Linked DNA regions of Homo sapiens: regions 1, 2, 3, 4, 5 and 6 are each linked to region 7. Evidence: promoter capture Hi-C in 16 types of primary human blood cells and fetal thymus (Javierre and others, 2016). All regions are on one chromosome and are shown on one strand. The core of a region is centred on a gene start or on the middle of the fragment in contact, and the rest is flanking DNA. Distances in the headings are between cores, read along the strand shown.

The links. The method cuts DNA at HindIII sites, captures the fragments that hold promoters and counts their contacts. A CHiCAGO score of 5 or more calls a contact.
Region 1: a contact is called between a fragment that was not itself captured here and the fragment with the promoter of TAS2R40 in region 7, in 1 of 17 cell types (M0 macrophages). The highest score is 5.7, in M0 macrophages.
Region 2: a contact is called between a fragment that was not itself captured here and the fragment with the promoter of TAS2R40 in region 7, in 6 of 17 cell types (naive B cells, M2 macrophages, naive CD8 T cells and 3 more). The highest score is 7.0, in naive B cells.
Region 3: a contact is called between a fragment that was not itself captured here and the fragment with the promoter of TAS2R40 in region 7, in 6 of 17 cell types (M0 macrophages, M1 macrophages, naive B cells and 3 more). The highest score is 10.8, in M0 macrophages.
Region 4: a fragment that was not itself captured here is called in contact with the fragment with the promoter of TAS2R40 in region 7 in 4 of 17 cell types (neutrophils, M2 macrophages, M1 macrophages and 1 more); the score reaches 9.1 in neutrophils.
Region 5: a fragment that was not itself captured here is called in contact with the fragment with the promoter of TAS2R40 in region 7 in 1 of 17 cell types (total B cells); the score reaches 8.0 in total B cells.
Region 6: the fragment with the promoter of TRPV6 here is called in contact with the fragment with the promoter of TAS2R40 in region 7 in 16 of 17 cell types (M2 macrophages, total B cells, M1 macrophages and 13 more); the score reaches 22.1 in M2 macrophages.

What each region holds. Positions count from the first base shown.
Region 1 is chr7:143,517,883-143,521,892 of GRCh38, forward strand. It overlaps EPHA1-AS1 (EPHA1 antisense RNA 1), which reads left to right. Exons shown (of 5, transcript NR_033897.1): 4 at 400-635; 5 at 1,049-4,010. Among named protein-coding and RNA genes, the nearest start is that of TAS2R41, 42 kb to the left of the region's middle. RefSeq lists a silencer at 3,794-4,010. The HindIII fragment of the contact is 2,467 bases long and covers 18-2,484 here.
Region 2 is chr7:142,836,565-142,840,525 of GRCh38, forward strand. No RefSeq gene overlaps it. Among named protein-coding and RNA genes, the nearest start is that of EPHB6, 17 kb to the right of the region's middle. RefSeq lists a cis regulatory region at 1,909-2,610. The HindIII fragment of the contact is 5,151 bases long and covers 132-3,961 here.
Region 3 is chr7:142,858,881-142,862,908 of GRCh38, forward strand. EPHB6 (EPH receptor B6) reads left to right here. Exons shown (of 20, transcript NM_004445.6): 2 at 2,172-2,306; 3 at 3,137-3,253; 4 at 3,876-3,953. Among named protein-coding and RNA genes, the nearest start is that of EPHB6, 5.8 kb to the left of the region's middle. The HindIII fragment of the contact is 2,948 bases long and covers 1,305-4,028 here.
Region 4 is chr7:142,928,946-142,932,561 of GRCh38, forward strand. TRPV5 (transient receptor potential cation channel subfamily V member 5) reads right to left here. Exons shown (of 15, transcript NM_019841.7): 2 at 1,404-1,501; 3 at 1,113-1,235; 4 at 483-620; 5 at 77-175. Among named protein-coding and RNA genes, the nearest start is that of TRPV5, 3.0 kb to the right of the region's middle. The HindIII fragment of the contact is 3,654 bases long and covers 1-3,079 here.
Region 5 is chr7:142,817,034-142,820,880 of GRCh38, forward strand. It overlaps LOC105375541 (a long non-coding RNA gene), which reads left to right. Exons shown (of 2, transcript XR_001745392.2): 2 at 1-403. Among named protein-coding and RNA genes, the nearest start is that of EPHB6, 36 kb to the right of the region's middle. The HindIII fragment of the contact is 300 bases long and covers 2,067-2,366 here.
Region 6 is chr7:142,883,963-142,887,989 of GRCh38, forward strand. It overlaps TRPV6 (transient receptor potential cation channel subfamily V member 6), which reads right to left and starts at 1,783. Exons shown (of 15, transcript NM_018646.6): 1 at 1,427-1,783. The coding sequence starts at 1,674. The HindIII fragment of the contact is 18,692 bases long and covers 1-4,027 here.
Region 7 is chr7:143,220,421-143,224,475 of GRCh38, forward strand. TAS2R40 (taste 2 receptor member 40) reads left to right here and starts at 1,617. Exons shown (of 1, transcript NM_176882.2): 1 at 1,617-2,659. The coding sequence starts at 1,659. The coding sequence ends at 2,630. The HindIII fragment of the contact is 3,585 bases long and covers 1-2,120 here.

The DNA of each region.
Region 1 (4,010 bases), core at 1-2,500, 300 kb after region 7:
CCAGAGGACGAGGGATAAGCTTCAAAAATGAGCACTTGAATGTTCCACATCAAAATTATCTGGTGGAGGGACTGTCCCAGTTCTGGTGCTGTGAAGGTCAACTTCATCACACATAGATGCATGATATTGTACTTTCACATTTTGAAAACGACCCTAGGCCTGAGGATTAGTTACTTTATCTACTTGAGAAATATTAGCATTTAATAGGGAAGCTAGTTTGTTTTCAAAATTTGTTTCTAAAAATAACTATCATTTTCCATGAAGTTGATTTTAGTAGACTTGAACATACTTTAAACTTCTAAACATCATTTTGTGCTACAAAACAGCAAGTGATCTCCCTCGAAAACCCAGCAAGACCCTCCTTCTAAAAGATGTTTTTCTGTTTCTTGCTGGCCATAGATGAGAGCTGGAATGAAGTACCAGGGCAAGGGAGCTGCCTGGATGAGGAAACCAAGGCTATCTCAGTACTGCCAAGGTGTTTTCATCATTCATCAAAATGCAAAAGTAAACACTGGTGAGAAAAACGATGTTGATCTCCCAGGCAAGCCACTTTCCAGGAGTGTGGCTGATTATTTTCAAATGCTGCATCGGAAAGTTGCAGGCCCCTTGGAAAATCTGTCACCCCTGAGAGTGATGTGAGTGATTTTGGCTTCGGGGGCTCTTTCCAACGGGATCATTTCCCTGCCATCCAATTGCCTGCCTTAGTGTTTCCAGAATAGATCCCTGTGGTTGCTGAGAAAGAGCAATAAATGCCTAAATGATTCAGGAGGCCCGAGGCTGGGCTCTGAGGGGGGCCCAGTCTCATCAGTGGGGAGTCTCTTCAGTGGCGGATCCTGTTATTGATGTGGTCTGGGGCCTGGGGATTTTGTTCTTTGACCAAGACAAAGGAGTAATACATGGAGACTTTCCTTCCTAGGCTTTGTCTGAGGTCAAATATTTGTTCTCCCATGGAGCTGAAAAATAATCAAGGATATCATCTTCTTGAATATTCTCTATTCTGCTTCTAAGAGTTGAAGAAATAATATTTTCCTCAATTCTATTTTTACAGATTATTCTACAGAAACAACACATCACTGGATGCCTCTCACCATGCAATCCTCTGTGCACTTGAGAAGAAGACAAGACTCTCCTATTTTTAGATGGGAAAGCTGAGGCAAAACGGATGCACTTGGGCAAAATCATTTGATAAAAATGGAAGCTGAACCTCCAAGTCCTGGCATCGGTAGCTGCCTCATGTTCCTCCCGCCTCACTCCACCTCAGTGTACCCGCGACTGGAGGGTGCCACAGGCTGGAGCACACAAAACACTGTGTGCTTCGTGATTCTGATGTGGGGCGCCAGATCCGGTGGAAGGAGGGTGGCTGCGTGGGAACAGATGCTCGTGTCACAAGGAGTTGTCTCTTGTGGGCAAAGCAAGCTGGAAAGTGTTTCGATTTCTTTATTTTCATGCTCTACTCTTGGTGCTTCCTTCTCCTTTGCCCACCAATCCCCCCAATGCCAGGCTTCTCCTTACCTGGGTGCAGAGAGAGGAACAACTTGGAGGTGGGCAGAGAGGGACTCAGTTCATGGTGCTTGGAGGTGGGAGAGCTCCCAGGCAAAATAGAGAGGAGACTGTGGAGATGCCGTGGGCAGGTGTGGAGGAGAGGGAGAGCTTGAACGGTGAAAAACAAGAGATGGAGAGTCTGGGAGAAGGGTGAGCAGCCAGAATGGGGATTTCCACAGTAGCTTCTGATGAGCTATGTCTGGTCAGAACTATAACCTTAGCTTCCTTTATTTCCCTGGAGGGGTGGGGAGATAGGAAGGAGAGGAGTATACTAGTCTCTTCCAAAGGGAGGGCCAGAGCAAAAGCGTCCTGTGATTAATTACTCACCACAAAAACCCTCTTCAAGGCTGGAGACCTAGGAGGGGCTTGGCACACAGACAACTCCTCTGCAGCTGTTCAGAGAAAAACAGCTCTTCCCATCTCAAGCCGCCCACCTGCCCAGTGTGCTGTCTGTCCCACTGGTCACACACTTTCCCTAGAGTGCTTCTTGCTTCTCTCACAGCAATTCCCACCTCCGCATGCTGGACCAGGCGGCCCCCTCTAGATCCCATGGTGAAGCATCAGGTGCCCACAGGTCTAAGATGTCTTCATTTGTTCAATGGCTAGAGCAGGCAGCTGGCTGTCCAGATGCATGAATGAATTCCCTAACTCTCACATGTCTGCAGGAAACTGCTGTAGGAAGCCTGCACCAGTGGATTGCCATTCGGGCAGATCCTCTCAACTTTGAGAGCTTAAGGCTTGCTTTTGAGTATGTGATTATGATCCTGCCTGTGTGTATGTATGTCAGAATCATAGAACTCTAGAGGTCATGTTTTAATTAATTTATTCATTCATTGATTCATTAACAAATGCTTATTGAGTACCTACTATGTGTCAGGCTGTGATCTGGATACTGAGGCACAGATCAGTGAGCAAAACAGACCAAAAGCTCTGTCATCATGAAGCTTATATTCTAGAGAGAAGAGATATACTATCATCAAATTAAGTCAGTTATGTAGCATATTAGAAAGTGATAAGTCCAGTGGGGTAAAATAAAGGAGGATGATGGGGAATGTGAGGGGCGGCATGCAATTTTAAATAGAATGTTTGAGGAAGGCTTTCATGGGAAAGTGATATTTGGTGCAAAACGTGAAGGCGGTAAAGAGGTGAATTATGTGGCTATGTCGGGGATGGACATTACAGGCAGAAGAATTAGTTAGTCGGGGCTCTGAGCAGGGAGCAGGTCTGGCATGTTCCCATCCCAGCAAGTAGGCCAGTGTGGCTCTGGTGGAGTAAGCAAGGATGGAATTGCAGCAGGTGAGTCCAGAAGAGTGATAATGGACAGCCAGTTGGGGGTGCCTTCCAGGTGATTGTGGGAACTAGGCTTTATTCTGAGTGTGATGGGTAGCCACTTGGGGCTTTCAGGACAGGATGGTAAAAAAAGGATCATGCTGCCTGCTGTGTTGGGAACAGACTGTATGGGACCAGGTGAAAGCAAAGCAGTCAGCCTCAAATAATTCAGGTGAGGGAAAACGTGACTTGAATAAGATTCACTGTAGAAGTGGTGAGATATAAGTGGATTCTGGATATAATAAAAATATAGAGCCAGCAGGATTTTCTGATGGATTAGCTAAGGAGTGTAAAGAAATAGAGGAGTCAGAGTGACTTTTTTTTTCCTTGAGCAACAGGAAGTGGAGAGGTATCATTACCTGAAAGGAGGAAAGCCTCAGGTAGAGAAAGTTTTAGAGGAGGTAAGATCAGAGGTTTAGTGCAAGACATGCTAAGTTTGAGATGTCTATTAGATACCCAAGTGGATCTGTCTAATGGGTATTTAGACAGATCCACTTGGATATCTGTCTCAATGGACATGTGATCTACATGTAGTTCACAGGATAAGTCCAGTTTAGAGTACCAATTTGAAGTCATCAAATGTAGGTGGCATTTAAAGTGGTAAAACTGGACTGAGCACAGTGGCTTATGCCTGTAACCCCTGCATTTTGGGAGGCTGAGGTGGGTGGATAACTTGAGGTCAGGAGTTCGAGACCAGCTTGGCCAACATGGTGAAACCCTATCTCTACTAAAAATACAAAAAATTAGCCAGGCATGGTGGCACATGCCTATAATCTGAGCCTCTCGGGAGGCTGAGGCAGGAGAATTGCTTGAATCCAGGAGGCAGAGGTTGCAGTGAGCCAAGATCGTGCGACTGCACTCCAGCCTGGGTGACAGAGTGAGACTCCATCTCAAAAAAATAAATAAATAAATAAATAAATAAAACAAAAATAAAAAATAAAGTGATAAAACTGGAGATCACTATGAGAATGAGGATAGCTAGAGAAAAGAAGGGGTCCAGAAGGTTATCCTTGCTGTGCTCCAAGGTGCTTGAGTTTGGAAACATGAGACAAAACCAGAAACAGAGACCCTGGGAGAGTCTGTGGTCTCCATTTTTCCGCTGAGCAAACCACAGGCTTGTGTTCTGCCTATCTCCCACT
Region 2 (3,961 bases), core at 1,457-3,956, 380 kb before region 7:
AGATGCTCAGCTGAATCTGTAATGAAAAGGAAATCTGAATGCTTGGCCAAGGAGAAGTAAATTCCCTGAGGTCAATCCTTTGTTGTTCTCTTTGATCTTCAGTAATGGGTCAATCAGACCACCTGCCCCGAAGCTTAGATGCTGTCCACATGATTTGCTTGCTGTCACTGTGTCCTAGCCAGAGTCTTGGGATTTAGGTTACTCTCGCATTTAAGAGGCCTTTATTGGGAGAAAGGATAATAATACTTAACAATTATATTCTACTTATATGCCACTTCTGTGTATTTTTACATATATTATCTAATATAATCCTCCCAACCAACCTGAGATACAGGCAGGTGGTTCATTTTAAAAATAATTTATCATTTTAAAAATAAAATGTACTGTATATTTAGTTTATGATAGGCATGTATGAAGTATATGTTTAATCTTTACAACAGCCCAAGACTTAGACCATGTTTTACAGTTGAGTCAACCAGGGCACCCAGTTAGTAAGTGCTACTGGTATATAAATAAATTGTTAATGATTTTTTAAAATGCTAATGCCTACTGCTGATGGCCTGTGAGACAGTAGGGTGTGTATTTCTGTAGAGCAATTTGCTATACGTACATGAAGTCATAAAAAAGCAAATATTTTCTGACTTGGCAAATTTGCTTCAAAGAATTTGATCCAAGAAAATAATTAGACATCTAACACCTCAAGTACAAGAATATCCACTGCAGAGTTTTTTAATTGTGAAAAACAATACTGGCTGGGCGTGATGGCTCACGCCTGTAATCCAGCACCTTGGGAGGCCGAGGCAGGTGGATCACCTGAGGTCAGGGGTTCAAGACCAGTCTGGCCAACATGGTGAAACCCTGTCTCTACTAAAAATATAAAAATTAGCTGGACGTGATGGTGCATGCCTGTAATCCCAGCTACTTGGGAGGCTGAGGCAGGAGAATCACTTGAACCCAGGAGGCAGAGGTTGCAGTGAGCCGAGATCATGCCACAACACTCCAGCCTGGGTGACAGAGCAAGACTCCTTCAAAAAAAAAGAAAGAAAGAAAGAAAGAAAGAAAGAAAGAAAGAAAGAAAGAAAGAAAGAAAGAAAGAAAGAAAGAAAGAAAGAGAAAGAAAGAGAGAGAGAAGAAGGAAGGAAGGAAGGAAGAAAGAAAGAAAGAAAGAAAGAAAGAAAGAAAGAAAGAAAGAAAGAGAAAGAAAGAAAATACTGAAATAACTTAAATATTCAATCAGAGGAAATGAGTAGGTAAATTATAGTAAATTATAAAATGGAATATCTTTTATATTTCAAAACTTACTTTAGAATATTATTTAATGATATGCAAAATAGTTTTATTGGCATGAAACATCATATTACGCTAAGTGAAAAATTTAAGTTCAAAGTCATAGATTGAGAAAAACTCATTTATCTCCCCTCACTCCAAAATAAAAGCAATAAAGTATAGAAATATGTTATAGGAAAAAGTATAAAAGAGAAGAAAAGAACATAATTGTCAAATACTGGATGGAGAATATTAACAAAATAAGATTTTAAGGCCGAGGCAGGCAGATCATGAGGTCAGGAGATTGAGACCATCCTGGCTAACACAGTGAAACCCTGTCTCTAATAAAAATACAAAAAAATTAACCAGTCGTGGTGGTGGGCACCTGTAGTCCCAGCTACTCGGGAGGCTGAGTCAGGAGAATCCCTTGAACCCAGGAGGCGGAGCTTGCCATGAGCCGAGATTGCGCCACTGCACTCCAGCCTGGGTGACAGAGCGAGAATCCGTCTCAAAAAAATAACAATAAATAAATAAATAAGATTTTATGAGTTTCTCAAAGACCGGAGATGGATATGGCCAAGGTGATTTAATGTAAATCAGAGCGAAAAGAGACTAGCTCAATAGAGGTAGAAGAGAAAGCAGCAGGTGAGGCAGGGTCATTTTTATAGCATTCTATAAGCCCTTAGAGATGTAGTCAAAGCATGAGAAAGTGCTTAAAGTAAGACAACTGATTGAAGAACTGTATGTCCAATGGCTGCTGAGTCACACATCGCACACATGAGTATGTGTAAGGAAAGTGCCTATAAAGTGAAGCTGAATGAACTATCAGCCTAGGATGGGCAATGGCTTTCAGAGTACAGGCTGCCAGCTTGCTTATCTTAGAGTACAGCCTGCCTGTCCACATACCACACCCACAAACAGAAATCTTGCAGTCTTTGTATGCAGGGAAAAGGAAACTACTATCAGAAGAAATGTTAGTCAGTTACAGGTAATAATCAACATTTCTAAATTCATAATCATCTCGGACAACTGAGTATCAGCAGACATTTGATTAAAAAGAAAAGCAAAAGGCTCTGGCAAAGACAATTCTATAGATTTATCAAGCCATTTTATCATCCTCTGGGGAGTACAGAAAAACTACATTTCCCAGTATCCTTACATCTAGATTGGGCCTGATGACCAATTCTAAACAGGGGAATGCAGTAGAAACATAAGCCACCCAGGTTTGGCCAGAAACACAAAATCTCCTACATGTGATACTCCTCTCTCACTTTTTGCAGCAATAATGGGAATCCTAGAGTAGTGGTGCTCTGCATCTCTGAGTCATCCCTTATAGGAAAGTTGCCCCGGAGAACTCTCTGACCAGGATGATACGCATTGGCCTTTATGTGAGGTGAAAGCAAAACAAGAAAACTTACATTGGATTAAGGCACTAAGAATTTTGAGATTATTTGTAATAGCAGGTAGCATTAATTATTCTTACTAATATAGCAAAATAAAAGAGAAACACCAAGATAATTAAACAGAATATTGACCCCAGAGGAAACATATATAATTTTAGGAAAAGACAAAAACTTTAATTGAATTATAAGTCTAATTTTTCTTTTTTAAAATTTTGAGGCTGGGTGAAGTGGCTCACACCTATAATCTCAGCACTTTGGGAGGCGGAGTCAGGCGGATCACCTAAGGTCAGGAGTTTAAAATCAGCCTGATCAACATGGTGAAACCCCATCTCTACTAAATACAAAAAAAAAAAAAAAATTAGCCAGGCTTGGTGGCGCATGCCTGCAATCCCAGCTACTTGGGAGGGTGAGGTAGGAGAATTACTGGAACCCAGGAGGTGGAGGTTGCCATGAACTGAGGTCGTGCCACTGCACTCCAGCCTGGGCAACAGAGCAAAATTCCAACTCAAAAAAAAAAAAATTGAGAAAACGTTATATTTATTTATTTAAAAAAAGAGTAAAATGAAAAAGAAAAAGAATAAGGGACAGTTGACATAAGTTAAAAATTATTGCTTAAATGATAATTTCAGGAGAAAAGCTATTAATAGAAAACATATAAATCACAAACAAAAAAAAAGGATGAAAAGCAGTCAGGGGAAAGGTAAGCACAGTAGATAAATATTTTTTACATATTCTTATACAACTTCAGAATAGAAATGATAAAAAGAAAACCCTACAAACTGCAGAAAAAATAAATAAAACAAATTATCATGGGCAGAATTGAATCAGATTGGCAGCTGACTTCATACCAGCAACATTAAGTACTAGAAGTAAATGAAGTCAGGACTTCAGTCAGACTATAAAAGAAAATGTTTTACATCTCAAATACTATAACTAACCAAAATATTAATAAAGCATTAAGATAGAATAAAGTCATTTAATACAGACAGAGATGAAAGTTTTTCTATAAAGTGTATTAAAATATGAATTCCAGCACACACAAAAAATGTAGTCCTAAGGGAAAAAAAGCTGAAGATAAGAAATCAAAGTACAGTGAAACAAACTCCAAAATTCAGTAAAATTAAATCTCAGGATGGCCAGGATGTTGGTTCTGTGGTAAAACCAGGGAATAAGAAGTTCATATTAGAACAAGAAGTAAGAGCATTCTGCTAGAATATCTTAAGGAAGAAAATAAAATTTTTTAGGAAGAAATAGCATGCTAAGGAGGATGAATGATCTTAGTGAGAAAGTGA
Region 3 (4,028 bases), core at 1,529-4,028, 360 kb before region 7:
TCTCTACTGTATCAAAAAGATATTAAGTGATATATCTATAAAAGAAGCTGAGAACATATTATAAAGTCATAGACTGCAATTTTTGTTACCTAAAACTTTGTCTAATCCGTCTCGTTTTCTCCACCATTGTTTTATGTTCACATTTCTGCTGCTTCTGGTTTTATATTTTTAAAACCTTATACACATCTGAAATGTGAATATTTTTCTAAAGGAGATAAGTTCTTTTGCACATTCTTGTGTTAGAGAATTTCTAAATACTGACCAGTTCCTTTTGTAAGTCAGAGGAGAGAGGACTCTCAAGCAGGCTGTGAGAGAGGAGCAAGGGGCCTGGCTTTGCAGAGGCTGCTTCCCATCTCTGTGGCAGGAGAAATGTACTGGCCTGTCCCTGGGATGCTCTCCTGGACCAAATGCAGAAGATGCTCCATGCCCACAACCATTGAAGACACCTTTGAAAAATCAAGTTCTGAGTCCTGCTTACTTAGCATTCCAGGCATGTGGAGCAGCCGTGTTCTTGTCACTTATGTTTCTGCCTTTGAAATTGGCTTCAAAAGAATCTGCAGTGGTATGAATTTGCTGACAGCAATTTATTCCATATCTTAATAAAGCTTCCTTTTTCTTTATTTGGATTCCTGCAACAGGGGTACACCCATATTCTTTTTATATATTAAAATTAAAAGTCTTGAATTTATCTGGTTTGTTTGATAAGTAAGAACTCACCTAACTTCCTAGTCTGACTCAGCAACAATTTTTTTTTTCTGAAAAAATGTATTTATAACCTTCAGTCATCTGGATCTGAATCTAAAAGAGGTCCTCATCAAACATTAGAAGTATCCTTCTGGGTACTTTAAGATCCTCAACCATTTCTTTTTAATGAATATCTTTGTTCTTAGTAAAATTTCAAAAAATTGCTGAAGTGGTCATCCACAGGCAGTGTCTCCATTTTCTTCTTTTCTTTATGCTGTTTCTTGATGGCAGAAGCTGAGTGGCCTTAACATCCATGTTTCATAATTGCTTTTGCTCTTTTCTGGATCTTCTGGAGGGAGGCCAGCTTCGTGTTGTCATTACGAGGCATGCTAAGGCTATGCAAGCACGCCCTATTGCAACCACAAGTGACTGTGTTCCTTGTAGTTCGGGTCATCAAAGCAAATATCTTGCTATTCATCTTCCAGAGTGTTCCATATTGGACAGCTGATACTATCTGCAGCGCATCTTTTCTATCTTGCTTGGCTGTCTTTCAAAATAATTCATTGAAATATTTCCAAAATATTTATTGTTCCTTCTTCATGATTATTTGCCTAGTTGTAAGCTTGAGAAGACACAGGGCTTACTGTTTCTTCTTTGTACAGATTACAGAATCCATCCATGTTCTGAGTGAAAGAAAGAGACTATTTTAAAGAATAACTTCTAGGCAAATGGTAAAATAGCCTTCATTGTTTAAAAACCTGCTGCTGGCATTTTCTTTCCCTGATAACAGTATTTCTAAGGACTCCGTGACTCTGGTTTGCTTCAGTGTGTCAAGCACGTCTCCAAATTAAGCCATTGAGAGTTTGGAGGGGATGCACTTACAACATGAATTACTTTAGGATATTTATTAAACAGCCACTGGTGACGGTGCCAAGGTTACAGAATTTAATAGCTATGCCTGCTTTTTACTTCATGATCTCCCCGTTCCTCTCCAAAGCATTTATTTCATCTGTGAAGGATCCTAGTAACATTTCAGACATTTTTGCAAAGAACATTACTTAAGAGCAATTTGCCATATGGAAATGCTCCTTACTTGTCTCCATAGGCTGTAAATTGAACTCTCTATTTCACAAATAGGGTTAAAGATGTATAAAAGGTGAGTTTCAGGGGCTAGTTGGCAGGTGCCCACTCTACATCAGCCCACGCGTATGTAGAAATGGTGTATTTCCATGATAACTTCATGGACAGCACAGCCCGCAGTGCCAGAAAAAAATTAGTAGGAATCAAATTATGATTTTCATATTTGTTGCAATTAAAGTTTCATAGTTTGATTTTTGTTTTATGATAGCTTTCAACAATCCCAAGGCCATATATATCCAGGAAAAACAAATCACAACTTCTCTTCTAATTGGCTTTTTTTTTGTTTTCCTCTCAGTTCTATGTCTTTTGAGCAATCTGGGCAACATGTCTCTTTTTTTTCTTCACAGAAATAAAGGGATTATAGTCCACCCAATTCACAGACTTCTGAGACTCAGACACGAGGAGAGATAGAGAACCGCCAATCTCTAAATCAACAAGCAAAGGAGGTGCCAAGCCTGTTTGTCTTCATTGTGACACTGGAGGTAGCTATTCCTTCTGTTCATTTGCTCGTGAGCTTAGTGGTGTACCTTCTGAAGGCACAGGAAGGTTTTATATAAGAGGTAGCTTACTACATAGTTCTGAGAAGCCATTATGAGGATATGAACACTGTTTTGATTAACTTTACTAAACAGTTATTATCCTATAGTTTTAAAGAAAATTTTAATCAATGATTTAGTTGAAAGAATACACATGCAAGAGTTTAAGAATGCAAAAATTTAAATGGATACAATTAATGAGAATACAATGAAAGTTAAGTCTCCCTTGCACTGGGTCTCAGTCCACTTCCTTTGCCTTTTTCACAGGTTTTGGATGCTCTTCCATAGATATCCTTCCATACATATGTATGTGTATATATCCTTCTTAACAAAGGGGAGCTTACTTTACACTGTTCTCCATTGTCCCACTTTCACTTGGAAATGCTTTTTATATCAGTGCATCAACAGTTGCCCGTATTTCTTTCTAAGGATGTACTATAATTTTACTGTCTTCCAATTGATGGACAGTTAGTTTACAGCCTTTTCTCTTATAAACAATTTGCAATTAATGTCTTTGTTCAAACATCTGTGCAAACCCATACAAGTATACAGTACCTGAAGGACACATTCTTACAATGTAGTTGCTGGAAAGATATTACCCAATTGTCCTCCCAAGAGAATATTCCAATTTGGATTCAAGCAGAGTATGTACAAGAGAACCTATTTCCCATATCTTGTCCAACATGGTAAAAATGGTGTCTTAGGCAACTGTGGCTGCCATAACAAAGTGCAATAGACCTAGTAGCTTATACACAATAGAAATATCTTTCTCACAGTCTAGATGCTGGGAAGTCCAAGATCAGGGTGCCGGCATGGTCAGTTCCTGGCGAAGCCTCTCTTCTAGGTTTCAGACTGCCCTCTTCTTTGTTGTGTCCTCGAATGGCAGAAAAAGGGTGAGAAAGCCCTTTGGGGTCTCTTTCATCTGGGCACTAATCTCATGATTAGTGAGGGCTCCACCCTCATGACCTAAAATTTCCTCCCAAAGGCCCCATCTTCTAATACCATCATCTTGGGAGTTAGGATTTCAACATATGAATGGAGGGGGGGCACAAATATTCCTTCTATAACAAATGGCCTGTTGCTGTAGTTTTAACCTGGTTTCCTTTCAATGTGAGCAAACAAGAAGCATCTTTTCATATGTTAAAGCCATAGGGTTATTCTTCTGTAAGCTCTAGGAAAACATGCACCCCTTGGGGCACGAGGATCTTTGTTCACAAAGTGTATGCCAGACCTCCATAGCTCTGCCCCCTCCCTGCACTGTCTCATTTATCAGACTGAATCTTCATGCCTGTGTTCTTTCTGTATTTATTCTGGTCCCTTCCCTCCCATCATACCCCACAGCCATCTTCCTGTGTCCCTCCCGCTTCACTGCTTCACTGCCCCTCTGAAATTTCTAGAGCATCCAGGTCCATCGGGGGTGGGGCGGTGTGGTGAGGATTCAATTCATGTGTCTGTAGGATGCAGCAGCTTCTTAACCAGCTGCCTTTAATGAAAATCTTCTAACTTCCAATACAGGGTGGCTGTTGGAGGAAGGGAGGAGAGTAAATGAAGAGAAAGAACTGGAATAACCCCTTGCAGAAAAAAAAAAAAAGGGTAAGATTGACCCAGAAACACCCTCTGCCCCACTTCTAGGAAGGAGAGCTGTGAGAAATGAACACAGAGACAGGG
Region 4 (3,616 bases), core at 3-2,502, 290 kb before region 7:
AGGTCCCAGCTCCACTCCTTACCCTGTCCCTCGCTCCCCACAGCATCCCAGCTCCCCTCCCCATCCCAGCTCTTACCCAGGGAGTCCTGGGCCCTGATGTCAGCTCCATGCTCAATGAGCAGCCGCACGATCTCCTCGCTGTTCACACAGGCAGCAAAGGACAAAGGGTGCTCCCCTGTGGACACAGAGAGATCCATGGCAGGAGAACGCAGGATGGCAGGATGGGGTGGGCAGTCTCCCCCAAATAAGGGCCTCCTCCTCATCCCCCATATCTCAGTTCTAGGCTGAGGGACACTCGTCCAGCAGAACCAGAGGAAGGAACCATCAGGGGAATGGGCCTCTGGCTTAATTAAGCCCTAGAAGGGCTGCCCCTCTCAACTGCCCAACAGATGGAGCTGAAGGCAGGACCCTCATGCCCTGGCCTCCCTCTGCCTTGCCCGCCTCTCCAGCCAACCATCCTTCAAGCCCAACCCTGCTCTCACCAAAGTAGATGAGGTTGCGGGGACTATGGCGGAAGGCAGTGCCTGTGGCTCTGGCAGAGACACTGGCCCTGCGGGTGAGCAGGGCACGCACCAGGTTCACATTCTGGTTCACAACAGCGATGTGCAGTGCAGTCTGACCTGGCCCAGAGACAGCCATCATCAGGGTCTCCCTCTGTCCCCAGTTCTCTCAGGGACACAGCATCCCCCACCATCCCTCTCAGGAGGTTCCTGATAGATCTTTGCTAGACTTCTGCCCTGGGCTTGGCAGGGTGGCCTGGGACTAAGAGCAATTCATCCCTCAGGCTGCCCTGCTCATTGACCTACCCTTCAGTTATTGGGAGCCAGCAGGGGATTGCTATGAATATAATCATTCTCATGTTGCTATGAGAGAAAGAAATTGAGATAGGTCCTACAGGGACTATGGGAGGTTTGAAAGGAAATGCTGAAGGAAGCCACAGATTGGTAAAAGCCAAGACCAGGACCTTTGCATTTCTCCCAACTCAACGGAGCCCATCCTCCTGACCCTCCATCACCCCACCCCAACCCATCCTTCAGAGGCCAATTTTAAGAGACAACAGCACACCCTCCATCTCAAAGTTTCCACCTTGAATTACCATGTAGGCTCCTTACCTGCAAAAGCCTCACATGTGGTGGGCTCAAAGACCAGCTCTGGGGCAGCCTCCATCAGCACCAAGGCCGCCTCCAAGTTGTCATAGAGGGCTGCTATGTGCAGCGCCGTCTCCCCCAGGGCTCCTGGATTGGAGTAAGACAGAGATGTTAGACACTTTTCAGATTCCCTTGAGGAAGGGGCCTCAGGCTCCAGAGACACCCTCCAAGGCCCTATTTCACAAACTCGAAGTCTTGGGGAGGAGGAGTAGGTTCTTCTGCCCCCACCTCCATCCCATTAAATCCAGATCCCACCTCTTTGTCGAACGTCACAGGTGCAGTCCAGTAGAAGTTGCCTAAGAACAGACAGGTCATTTTCCTTGGATGCTCGAAGCAGTGGAGACTCTAGAATCCTGGGGAAAGGTGAACGTGAGTTTGGAAGAGACAGTCATAGCAGAATGAGGCCAAGAGCAAAGGGGATCTAAGACATTCTTTAAGACCAACGTGACTCACACAGCGTGCAGTGACAAATTGGAAAGAAGTGCCTACTGGACTCGAATGACCGAGGGTGGACTTGGGCAAGGGTCAGCCCCAGGGCCTTCCTTGCAATTCACATCATGGTGATTCTCCTGTGAGGATGGCCCTTGAAGCTCTGCTGGAGGGGAAGAGTTAATAGGAAGAGAACCTGTAGTCTGGAAAGAGTGGTCTGAGAGTCTCTAAGAAGAGGACCCTAGGCTTGGCTGAATTCATCTAACCTGAGTAACTGTCTCAGATCCTGGATAGTTGGAGAGCGGGACAGAGGGCACTTCCATCTGCGGTCCCCCTGCTCCTGGGCCTGCTGAATCTACTGTCTTTAACCAAGGGGAGTTTGGGAGACCAAAACACAGAGGGAGGAGGAATGGATCGACTGCTAGATCTTTCCTAGGCATTTTGAAATTTGTGAAATTTGTGAGGCACTAAAGTTCTGACTACTCCCTCAGGCTATTTTTTTTTTTTTTTTTTTTTTTGAGACAGAGTCTTGCTCTGTTGCCTAGGCTGGAGTGCAGTGGTACAATCTCAGCTTACCGCAGCCTCTGCCTCCCAGGTTCAAGCAATTCTTGTGCCTCAGTCTCCCGAGTAGCTGGGATTACAGGCACGCACCACCACGCCCAGCTAATTTTTTGTATTTTTAGTAGAGATGGGGTTTTGCCATGTTGGCCAGGCTGATCTCGAACTCCTGAGCTCAGGCAATCCGCCTGCCTTGGCCTCCCAAAGTGCTGGGATTACATTGCGCCCAGCATCCTCAGGTTATTTAGATACAGGTCCCTGCAGGGGGTGGAGAGTTGTGGGGTGAGTTACAGGGTGCCTCTTTCTTCTGCATTATACCCTTAGATGCAAAGGTCTAAACAGCTTGTTTATGTGGGTGTCTCAAGGCAAAACAGGTTGAGATACTCATTCTACAGGACCTCTGTTAATCTTTGCTTCTACCATACCCAGATTTGAACCCAGAAAGAGATAAAGCTGGAGCCTCTCCAACTAGACATATGTGTATTGGCCCCAAAGGCAAGCACATGGTGTAGGGGGAAGAACAGAAAGGACAGGCCGATGAGTGGCTCCTCTGAGGTCCCCACCTCCAAATCCCTCTCTTCCAATAGCCCCAGGAGCCAGGGCGAAAAAGTGTTTTTATTTTATTTATTTATTTTTTTTGAGACGAAGTCTCACTCTATTGCCCAGACTGGAGTGCAGTGGTGCGATCTCGGCTCACTGCAACTTCCGCCTCCTGGGTTCAAGTGATTCTCCTGCCTCAGCCTCCCGAGTAGCTGGGACTACAGGTGCCCACCACCATGCCTGACTAGTTTTTTTATTTTTGGTAGAGACGGGGTTTCAGCATGTTGGCCAGGCTGCTCTCGAACTCCTGACCTCAGGTGATCCACCCATCTCGGCCTCCCAAAGTGCTGGGATTACAGGTGTGAGCCACCACGCCCAGCCAAAGTGTTTTCATTTAAAGAAGAAGCTTTTAATCTAAAGGTGGGGCCTGGTTTTACCTGTTAAGGCAGTGCTCCTAGGAGGGGCCTTTGTGAGGAGTCAGTTCCCTGCCCCGTCTCACCCAGGGAATCAGTCCCAGGGAGCCTGGTGTCCCTGACCAGCCTAGAGTGGTCAGGGCTGAGATTGCAAATTCACCCCCATCCTGAGGCCACTGCACAAACAAAGTCCTTGCCTCCCTGGCCCTCTATCCCCACTGCCCCTCTGCAGAGGGTCCAAGTTGGGGCTGGAAGCTCACTTTCTCAGAGACCCAGGGGTCCCACTCTAAAGCAGGAAGGTGAGATTCCACTGGAGGTATTGGGTGGGGAGATGAGGAAGCAGAGGGCTTGACAGTATGAGGGCTCAGAGGTACTTGGGACCAGGCCCAGTGTAAACTGCAAATGCAGGACCCCTTGTTCAAAATTATTAAGAACTTGAAGATGAGGACAGCAGGGCATTGAACAAAGCACAGGAATCTTCTGGAGTACAGGGGAGCCCTTTGTGACTGCTAATGTCTGCTCAACAAC
Region 5 (3,847 bases), core at 967-3,466, 400 kb before region 7:
AAAGGAAAGGGAGACAAGCATGAATTGTCTGAGAAACCCCTGAATTAATCATGTGTACCCCAATGCAACAAGGATCTAGATATAGAATAATTTTAATTATAGAAAACAAAATTATATTTTACCCACCCATATTTGATGCCCATGAATTTCACATCTACCTTACGTGCACATAAAATTCAAGCTTAGATAGACGGAAAACAAAAAATCAAGAAGCAATATTTGCCTTCTAATAACTTATCTATTGGAGGAGGTAAAAGATAGAAAAGTAGTTCAGATGACAAATACTAAAAGAGTTAGGAACTTCTGCTTCCACTTACGATGAAGGAACTTGTACTCAATCCATCCACTTTGTAATTCTCCTTGAGCTGCTGTAATAAAGTACCACAAACTGGGTGACTTAAAACAACAGAATTTATTGTCTCATGGTTCTGGAGCCTAGAAGTCTAAAATCAAGGTATCAACAGAGCTATGCTTCCTCTGAAACCTGGAAGGAAATTCTTCCTTGCCTATTCCTAGCTTCTGTTGATTTGCTGGCAAATTTTGACATTCCTTAACTTGCAGCTACATAACTTTAAACTCTGCCTTTGGCATTACATGGCATTTTCCCTGTGTGTTTCTGTCTTCCCACGGCTGTCTTCTTACAAGTACATCAGTCATATTAGGAGTCCACAGTGCTCCAGTATGACCTCATCTTAACTAGTCACACTTGCAATGACCCTATTTTCAAACAGAGTCACATTCTGAGGTACTGAGGGTTGGGATGTCAACATATCTTTTTCTGGGGGGATGGTGGGTATAATTCAATCCATTATACCCTCCAATAATAAACACCTAGAAAACTGGGCAATATACGTGAGATAATTGTTTTCTAATATTGGACAAGAGATGGCACAAAACTGTGATCCATAAGTGAAAGGAGACAAATGAGGTGCGTGCTGTGATCATTTCCGTTTTCTACCCAGAATTTCCTGGGTTACTGTACAAACAAGAGGGACCCAAGCAGAGCATGGCACCCTGAAATTCTTACTGAGCTGAGGACACAGCTCAGAGAAGAGGAGGCCATGCACGGAAAGAGCCCCGCAATTTTCATGAGGTCTCATTGAGTCTTTGGGTAAATACTAAGCTGGCATCCATTGGGTGAAACTCCACAGGGGCAGGCAAAGAATAAGTACTGGAGAATTAACAACTGCTGGTGAACTACAGTATGAATAATTACTAGATCTTGGTCGAGGCTGAGAGAGATACAGCTCTGAGCCATCAGAATAGCTTTGTTGAATACCTGGAACATTGAACAGGTATCCCAGGAAGCCCATAACTTAGAGTAGGACTCAAATGGCATAGAATAAGTCTACCGTCCATTAACCCTAACAAAGCTTAAAAGAGCCCTTGAAAGGAAAAGCAGACAAGTTGACCTGCAAGCAAGTCAACTGCCCACTAGAATAAAGCTCAACACTCTTTGAGAGAAGAAAACAAAATTCAGATAATAAAAAAGTAACATTCATAATGTTGAGCATCCAGTCAGAAATTATGGGATATACTTAAAAGCTGGAAAATGTGTCTATGCTAAGTAGTAATATTAGGCAATTGAAATCAACCCAGAAATGGCAGAGATGGTAAATTAAAATAATGGGACTTATAAATGGCTAATATACTAAAATGGCTATTATTAAATATGTTCAAGGATTTATAGTGAAACACAACATAATGAAGAATGAAACAGAAACTATAAAAAAGCTAAATAGAACTTCTAGATCTGAAAAATATCTGAAATGAAAATTTTGCTAGATAAGCTTAAGTTGGAGTAGACACTATAGGAGAAATGTCTATGAACAGGAAATCAGGACAACAGAAACTGTCAAAACAAGAGAGAGGAAAATAAAGCTAAACAACTACAAAAACTGGAAGAGGTCTCAGGGAACTCCCAAACAATATCAAGCCACCTAGCACACATATCATTGGAGTCTTCAACATAGAGGAGAGAAAGTGGTGGCAGAAAACAATTATTTTTAAAATAGTGGCCAAAATGTTTCATACATGATAAATAATATCCACCTACAGATCCAGGAAGCTTAGCAAAACCCAAGCAGGATAAGCTCAAAAAAGTTTGTTTATGAAAGAGATTACTTTCAGGTATGAGGCTCAGTTTAACTTTCACATAAGAGACAGACTCTGAGATGGTCCTTGAGAAGTCATAGGGTTTTAGACTGATAAAAATGACATTAAAAGGCAAGAAAGGATGAATGGTACAGAAATGACCAAAGGTACAGAGGCTGAAAGTACAGGACATCGGTGAAGAACAGTAAGAAGATGAACCTAAAGGGAGAGGAAGAGAATACATGAAGATAGGTTACAGTAGAATTTCCTAAAGCTTAACACATCTGTGTCTGAGGGAATTCTATGATGGGGTAACAGAGGCTGAATTTACCCTCAAACCTGAAACAATTAAAATGCATGAAATATATGAAACTCTGGACAACAGATGGCTCAAGACCGTGATCCCTGAAAGAAGTGAAATGAATAAAGTGAACCCTGTGATGGCCTCAGTTTATAGCCTGGAGATCTTTTTCAGGCAGTATTATAGGGAGGAGAAGCCCAAACAGCGCCTGGCAGTCTCTCTGAGTTAAGGAGACTTGCATTCAGGGTTTGAGGAGGCCAAAATGGCTAAAATTCCAGGGAAGAGACCCAGGGAGGAGAAAGCGGTGGGTGGGAAGTGCTCTGGAATGTGCATTGGACTCCCAGTGACTCTTCAACTGCTCTGACCAGTGAGTACAAGAAAACAACCTGAGGCTAGGGAGAGACCACTCGATGGATCAAGCAGAACCATCTCAAAGTCCACACGGGGCCGGGAAAAGATGGTGCTTCCATCAACCAGAGTGGGAGACCTCCTAACACAGAGGGCATTGAGGAGAATTCTCAGAAGCGGATCACCCCAGTCGCGGGAAGCAAATTTGCTGTACACTAAAGGCTGTCCTAGATACAACTTACAAAGCTCCAAAACAAGACTCAGAAATATCAAATTGTTTCTATGTAATCTATCTGCATCACAAAATAAAGTCCCAAATTTATTTAAGGGATACAAATACTCCAGTAGCTAGAAACGTAAAATTCAAATATCTGATATCCAATTTTAAAAAGTCATATATGCAAAGAAAAAGAAAAATATGGGTCATAAGGAGGAGAAAAACACTCAATAGAAACAGATCCAGAAATGATATACATGATGGAGTTAGCAGACAAGGCTATTAAATATATATTCAATATGTTCGGCAGGATAGAAGAGAGTGTACATATGTTAAGAAGAGACGTGGAAGATTTAAAAAAGACTGAAATAAAACTTCTTCCGATGCAAAATACAATGAATGTGATTTTATAATATACTGGATGGGATTAACAGCAGATTAGGTATCTCAAGTCAAACTTAAAGATAAGGTAATAGAATTCACCTAGGATAAAAACAGAAAGAAACTGACTTAAAAAAAGTGAGCAGAGCATCAGTGAGCTGTAGAACAGCATTAAGCAGCCTAATATTGAGAGTCCTATAAAACTGGAGGACTAATGCAGAAAAAAGAAATTGAATAACTAATAGCTGAAGCAGTTTTAAATTTAATGAAAAGGAAAAGCCACAGATTGAAGAAGTTTCATGAACTCCAAGCACAAGTAACATGAAGAACACTTTAACAAGATATAGTATCATTGGATTGCTTAAAACTAATAAAGAAAAATCTTGAAAAGCAGCCAGAGAATAAAAGACACACTATGTACAAATGAACACAGTTAAGAATGACTGCAGTCATCTCACTAGAAACAATTCAGGCAAAAGAGTGTGGAGAAACATCTTTAAATTATT
Region 6 (4,027 bases), core at 533-3,032, 340 kb before region 7:
TATTCTCAGCCACTCAGCGCAGGGCCTCCCCTCTGCTCTCCCCTGATATCGCACACAGGGAATCTCCACCACCCCTTCCAATCCCCCAGGCCTTTTTGCACTCTGTGCCTGGATCCCCTGGCCCTGGGGTCCTAAGAGTGGGAAGAGGATGAGTGAAGCCAGTGAGGACGACCTACTCTCTAACAACAATGCCATTCTGTTGCCCCAAGATGTCATCAGCCAAACATGTGCTCCAGTCCCCACTCTCCCAGGCCTTGGGGGAGAGGTGGGCGGCTGGAGAGATGGGAAGCCATAATTCACAGAAAGAGACCATCCCCAACCCAGAATCCTTCAGCAAAAGAAAACACAGGGGCCTCCAGGCAGCCTCCCCGGTCAGGCTAAAGCAGGCTCCTACTCTTGGGGTCAGAGAAAAACCCTAAGGCACAAAGACTTCAGGCTTTCCTCTATGACCAGACATCTGCCTCCTTCGTGACCCAGGGAAAGCCCCAACAGGCAGGACTTCCTTCTAGCATGCCACCAACTGGGTAGAGAACTCTATTAGAGACCTTGAAGAAGAGACCACATGCAGGGATAGCCCTGAGTTCCGATTCCCTGCTCCTCTCCTGCTCTGTACTCCAAGCTGTCATGGTGAAGAAAGCAGGACACGGGTTTAGGAAGTTTTCAGGGGCTGGAAGCCACCAGTGAATGTCCTTAGGGCTTAAACGCTAGAGTCTCGATTTCCACCACCTGAATGCGGAAGAGCACAGGTCCTCGGAACATCTGTTATTTTGACCCGCTTCCCCTCAGTCCCCACCCGCACTGAGAGAGAAATACACCTCAAGGTTGGGTTTGAGCGTTGTAGGTCTTCATATCCCCCCAGTGCTGGGCAAATAGTAAGGCCTTGGTCAGTGTCTGATGAGACAGATACATAGGAATGGTCACTTTTTTCACATTTTGTCTTATTTTCTGGTTCCTGGTGTCCGCGGTTCTCTCTGCTTCATTCATTCAATCGTTCACTCATTCCTCCATGCGAACATATGTATACTATGTGTTCCTGCCAGAGAGACTGTTCTAGAGGCAAGCAGTGGAGATACAGAAGGCATTGTCCTCACCTGCCGTCCCCTCTTGGGTGGAGGGGCTGTGATGCTCTATCCTTACAAGCCCCAGCAAGACGCCTGGCCCTTAGAGAAGTACTCACAAGAGGCTTGCAGAATCGAATTAGATCTTAAGATAGTGAACACCTGTGCCCATCTCAACCCCATCCTCTTTCACCAGCCCTACAGGCTGAGGCTCTTAAGACAGAATGCTCCCAAGGAGCCAGTCCGGGCCTGGGAGCACCATCTGTCCAGCCAAAGGTGCCAAACAAAGACGGGAGGTGAGGGAGGGGTGAGGGGTAGAGGTGCAGGCCTGGGGAGGTGGGGAAGGGAGCAGACCAAGGGGGCCTTACCTCTTCTGCTGCAGCAGGTTCTGCTCATCTCGGCTCTGGGCCCAGGACTCCCGTCTCTGGAACCATCTGCAGAACTTGCTCCATAGGCAGAGAATTAGCCCTTTCTCCTTGGGCAGTGACAAACCCATGGGGTGTAGGGCCGGCTCCTTGGGGGCCTGAGGCCGAGGCCAGACCCTGACGGGACTCAGCCTTGGGGCCACATCAGCCCCCCCAAGGGCCGGCCCACCGTCTCCCTGTAGAGGTCCCGTCTCCTGTCTCCTGCCTTCCTGACGAGTTCCTTGGGAGTCTCCCAGCAGCCCCAGCCAGTTTGGAGAGGGCTGTGAGTTTGTTACACTTGGCAGAGCCAGCCAGGACTCTGCAGGGCTGGCCTGTCTGGAGCTCCTGCTGGGAGTGAGCAGGAGGAGCCAAAGCTGCACGGACACGCCCTCCCTCCTCCCAAATTACCTGAGATTTAAAGACACAGGCCAGCCACAGACCTGCCTACCAAGGGGGACTTGTGCCAACTCCAATTCTTTCTCCACCCAGGGCTCTCTCCCTGCCCCCAGGCCAGTCACAACCAGGGAGGCCTTCAGAAAGACTGGCGAGGCCTCCCTTGGACGTCAGAACACCCAGTGACCTACCCTGAGAGACTCTAGGCAGTGAGAAAGGAGGGGAGGAGTCAGGGCAGGCCCATTCCCAATGTTGAGGACTCCCAGGAGGGAGCGCCCCACTTTCCCACAGTGCCTCTTCTGCCGACCACCTGCCTCACTCTCTGCCTCCCCCTGCTTATGTCCTGGAGAATTCCATTTTCTGGACTCTTCCAGTTTCATTCTTGCCAGGCCTGAAATAGGTATATAAATTGCGAAGATACTCAGTTCTCCCAGACTTTCCTCTCAGTCCCCATCACCTTTGGGTCAGCAAACTTTTTCTGGAAGGGCTGATAGGAAATGTAAAGATGTTAGGTTTTGCAAGCCATGTACACTCTCTAATGTACGTTATTCTTTGGTTTTGTTTTGGTGGTTGTTTTCTAACCACCCCCAAAGATGTAAAATGCATTCTTCGCTCACCAGCCAGGGCACAAAATCTAGCTCTGGGCAGACCCCCTGCTCAGGAGCTCCACAGACTGTCCACAATGCCCCGTGCATGGGGTGGGTGCCCGATAAAATACAGGACACGTGGTCAAATTTGAATTTTAGATAAACAACAAAGAATTTTTTAGTATAAATATACCCCACGTTTTGCAAGTATTCTATCTGCCAGCCTTCCCGTGGAGGTGACATTCAGCTGCTACTGTGTGCTGGGCCTTTTAACTGAGCGTTCCCAGGTAAACTCGTAACAAACCTGCAAGGCAGGTATTATTATCTACATTGTATTGATGGGAGAAACCAAAGCTCACCATGGTAAAGGAACTCTCCCAAGGCCATAGAGGTGGCAGAGGCAAGATTCACACCCATCCCTCATTCCAAGCCCACTTCTTTCTCCCTAGCACACCTCCTCATTCTAACTGGCCAACAGAGCTTCAGAGAGGTTAAGTGACTCGCACAGTCATACAGAAGAATGATGGCATTAAGCATGGCCCATCGTCTTCCCACAACAAAGAGCTCCATCATGAGCTTGCTGGAAGCTGTCGGAAAGGTCATTTAGTTCAACTTTTCCACTGGAAAGGGGCAGAAGCCCGGGCTTATCCAACCTCCTGGTGCCAGCCAGGTGCCAATAGCCTAGGGGCAGGTGTCTGGGTGTTCAGAGTCACAGGTGTGTGGATCACTTCCTAGCTTCAGAGTCTGTTTTGTCCTAACTTTCTCTGACTCAGAGTTGGAAGACCCAGCCAGGGGAGTGTGTGTGTGGCGTGTGTATGGCGTGTGTGCCCATGTGCATTTGTGTGTGGTGTTTATGCGTGTGTTCATGATGTGCATCGGTGGGGTGTTTTGTGTGTGGTATGCTGTATGTATATGATGTGCCTGTGGTGTGTTTGGTATGTGTCTACGTGTGTATGATATATGTGATATGTGTAGGTATGGCCTGTAGAGCGTGTGGATGTGGTGTCTGTGATGGTATGTGTGACATGTGTGTTGTGTATATACGTATTGTGGAAAGATTGTTGCATGTGTGTTGTGTGTATGGTGTGTAGTGGGTGATGTATATGGTACCTTTAAGGTATGTGTGCGTGTACATGATGTGTGTGTGTGTGTGTGGTGTATACATGATTTGTGTAGTGTATGGTGGGTTTACTATGTGTGTATGTATGGTGTGTGTTGTGTGTGTATGTATGTCATGGGGTGTGTGTCATATGTGCTGTGTGTGGGGGGAGTCGGTGTGTGGAGGGAGGTGGATGCTGAGGTAGGGCAGGGGAGAGAAGGACCCCTTCAAGTGGAAAGCTATTTGTGTTCCTGCCGCTGGGCAGAGGCCAGGCCACGCAGTCCTGAGCAAACAGTTCAATTGGATTAGCTTCGTCCCCACCCACCTGGGTCAGTGGGTTCGGGCTGGGTTGGGGGAAGGTGCTAGAACCCAAACCTTGAACCCCAAGACCTTTGTGCCCATTAAGCCAGTGGTTTGTCGCTTCAAAGACCTATTTAGCTTCAAAGACCCCAGTTTAGTGTCTGGTGGGGAAGGAGAGAAAGCAAT
Region 7 (4,055 bases), core at 367-2,866:
ATGGACCAAGGTGTGAAGGATGGTAGCTCACACCTATAGTCCCAGTATTTTCGGAGGCTGAGATGGGAGGATTGCTTGAGCCCAAGAATTCAAGATCAGCCTAGCCAACATGGCGAAACTCTGTCTCTACAAAAAATACAAAACTTAGCCAGGTGTGTTGGCATGCATCTGTAGTCCCAGCTACTCAGGTGGCTGAAGTGTGGGGATCACCTGAGCTATGGAGGTCAAGGCTGCAGTGAGCCATGATTACACCACTGCACTCCAGCCTGGGTGATAGAGTGAGACCCAGTCTCAAAAAGAAAAATAATCAAATAAAAATAACAGGGTAAGCACACTGGAAAATGATAACTGGCACTCAGCTTCTGTGTCAAGAAGACACTAGGAATTAGTATTGTCAACAAACTGAAAAGTATATACCTTGTTTAAAATGGGCAGCCATTACTCAGCTTCAGCCAGTTCACTATGAAGACCCAATACTGCCAAATCTTCTAATTTTTCAAGAGAAGATAGATTTTTTGTGCATGCATATAAGTAATCTCCTAAGTTTAAATGTTTGCCAATAGAACCCCTCAAAAAGAAAAGTTACACACTGGTGGATTAATGCTGTACAGCATTAACCAATGCAAGGTAAAATGACTACAGGCCAAATCTGACCCAAGGCTCATTGGTTTCCAGCTAAGATTTTGGATCTCAATCCTGACTATGAGCAACAAGACCTTTCGGCTTTTTTAAAAGATAGCATGCCTGAGCCCTAGTCCAGTTCTGATTTCCTAGATTTGGACGAGTCCTGGGCATCTACATATTCTTGTAAAGTGCCAGAGTTCATTCTGGTTCACAGCCAGGGTTAAAAAGTAGGAAATTAAATTTCAAGTCATAGTACCTTATCACATTTCCAAACTTCAACACCATGTCCAGAACACTGAATTCTCCCCAGGCTCATTCTACCTGATTCTGAGCTCAAATAGTCATGTGGGATCTCAGTAAGCTGAAATTGATGACACATACACAAACAATAAAAACTGGGACTATGGAGACTTCCTTCTCTCCAACTCGAATAGCATCCAATTTTGGCTTTTCTATATACTATTCGAGGACATTATAATAGCAGGCCTTTTTGGAAGAAACTCAATTCTAAGTAAAAGATGTTCATATATGAGCTTATGGGAATTTCTTATTCACAAACATGGTAACTATCAAAATAAAACTCTCTCCCAAAATAAGAGAGACAAGAAAAGAAGTGGGGAAAACAGATTTTAAAAGCTGTATGAGCTTTTACAAATAATTTAGCAGGTAACAGAGATCTTGTGAGACAAGTAAAAAGGCCTTGTATTCATTGCTTATCAGGTAAATGTGGACTTAAAGTAAATAAGGTAAGAAGGTGTTGAGCTAGAAACATGTCTCAAATTATTTCCAGTGAGCTTCTGAAAGCCCAAGACAAATGTATCTTTATGAAAAATTGAGACAGACCCAGTAACCAGATCCTCTCATTATTTGCATGTGAAGCCTCTAACTTGTAGTCATGTGATAAACAAATGGAGAAAAATTGGAAATAACCATTAATGAGGGCGGCAGAAATTATAACATTGAGCAAGGGTCAGAAGATTGCAGAGCAGTTACCCATTCTTGGCGCAGAAACCTGAAAGTCAGGATCAAAGAGAATGGCAACGGTGAACACAGATGCCACAGATAAAGACATATCCAAGTTCAAGGTCACCTTCACTTTGGTGGTCTCCGGAATAGAGTGCATCACTGGCATCCTTGGGAGTGGCTTCATCACGGCCATCTATGGGGCTGAGTGGGCCAGGGGCAAAACACTCCCCACTGGTGACCGCATTATGTTGATGCTGAGCTTTTCCAGGCTCTTGCTACAGATTTGGATGATGCTGGAGAACATTTTCAGTCTGCTATTCCGAATTGTTTATAACCAAAACTCAGTGTATATCCTCTTCAAAGTCATCACTGTCTTTCTGAACCATTCCAATCTCTGGTTTGCTGCCTGGCTCAAAGTCTTCTATTGTCTTAGAATTGCAAACTTCAATCATCCTTTGTTCTTCCTGATGAAGAGGAAAATCATAGTGCTGATGCCTTGGCTTCTCAGGCTGTCAGTGTTGGTTTCCTTAAGCTTCAGCTTTCCTCTCTCGAGAGATGTCTTCAATGTGTATGTGAATAGCTCCATTCCTATCCCCTCCTCCAACTCCACGGAGAAGAAGTACTTCTCTGAGACCAATATGGTCAACCTGGTATTTTTCTATAACATGGGGATCTTCGTTCCTCTGATCATGTTCATCCTGGCAGCCACCCTGCTGATCCTCTCTCTCAAGAGACACACCCTACACATGGGAAGCAATGCCACAGGGTCCAGGGACCCCAGCATGAAGGCTCACATAGGGGCCATCAAAGCCACCAGCTACTTTCTCATCCTCTACATTTTCAATGCAATTGCTCTATTTCTTTCCACGTCCAACATCTTTGACACTTACAGTTCCTGGAATATTTTGTGCAAGATCATCATGGCTGCCTACCCTGCCGGCCACTCAGTACAACTGATCTTGGGCAACCCTGGGCTGAGAAGAGCCTGGAAGCGGTTTCAGCACCAAGTTCCTCTTTACCTAAAAGGGCAGACTCTGTGACTGGAACTCACGGAGTTCTGCGGGACCTGGTCCAACCACTTCTGCCTTTGCCTCAGGTAGAACTCTCTCCTCACCCGTCTCTTCTCTCCCAAACCTGCTCTGACACTTCTCAGATAACGTGATCCTTTTATAAATATGAAGCTGAATTTTTAACTTGAGATTCTAAACAGAAGTAACTAAGAAACCTGAAGATGGACTTTGAAAGCTCCTTGAACTATGTTCATTCATATCCTGCCCTGAGATCTCTCCACTTTCTTCTCCTCCTGAGCCTTAAGGAGAGGGTGGCCAGACATATCGGTTTGCCAGGGACAATCTCTGTTTATTGTCTGTTGTCAATTGAGCATCCTTTAATTCTCAAGAATATCATGGTCTGGATGAAGAATTACATGATCATCCTACTTAAGACACCCAACTAACACACAGTTAGGGCTGGTGAAGCAGAGCACAGCACTCAGTCCACGGGGTAGAAGGGAAACCAGAGTGGCTACAGAAAAAGAAGATTCAGGAAAGAAAGGCTGCTGGAAATTATCAAGTGCTGCAGAGTTCCGAGGAAAGTAAAGGGTGAAGAAAAAGGCTCTGGATTTGACTAAAAGGATGCCATGTGTGCCATTAGTGGAGTGATAGGGTGACATCCTGATCCCAGGAGTTCCAGAAGATAATGCCAAAAGGGAGGGGATGGGTAAAAACCAATAGTCTAGAGAGGATGTTTGCAGATAAAGATGAGTTATAGAACGGCAGATGGATATGTGAAGGGTCAGTTCAATGCTTTATTTCTCCAAATGGGAGGGGACAAAGTGAGCAGAGAGGAAAGAAAGAATGCAGGGAAAAGAGTGAAGTGGGCAGGAAGCAGAAAGAGAAAAGGAAGAGGCCAGAGTAAGTAAGCGTCTGTTTTGCTCAGCTCCTGACTCTGTGGCAATGCTAGCGGCACCTGTGCCTCTGGTTTTACCAGTTCTGGGTTACCTTGAAGTAAATAGTGGGGCAAGAGCGGGTTACTTGGGGCAGGCTGCTGGAGAAGAGGAAAAACATTATTCTCCATTGTCATTGTTCAGGATGGTTCCAGCAGCATTGTCTCAAAGAGCTGTTCACAAAACATTGGACACCCTCTCCCCAGATATCTTAGAGCTTGAACGTTAGGAATCTGAAGTTGTCTTTTATTAGGTAAGTTTTAAATCATGATTATTGAGGAAAATGAAAAAAGAATGCTGTGGATCATACCAAGCTTAGGTAGCCCCCAAATGAAAATATGAGGTCAGTAGCAAAGTCTAGTTCTGAGCTCCAGCGCTCTCAAGCACACATTTCAGAGAGAGTTCCTTACATCCATAAACTGCAAAAACCACACACACACACGGCATACACACAGACACATGGCATACACACACACACACACACACACACACACACAGATTCCTTTATAGCTCAGACAGC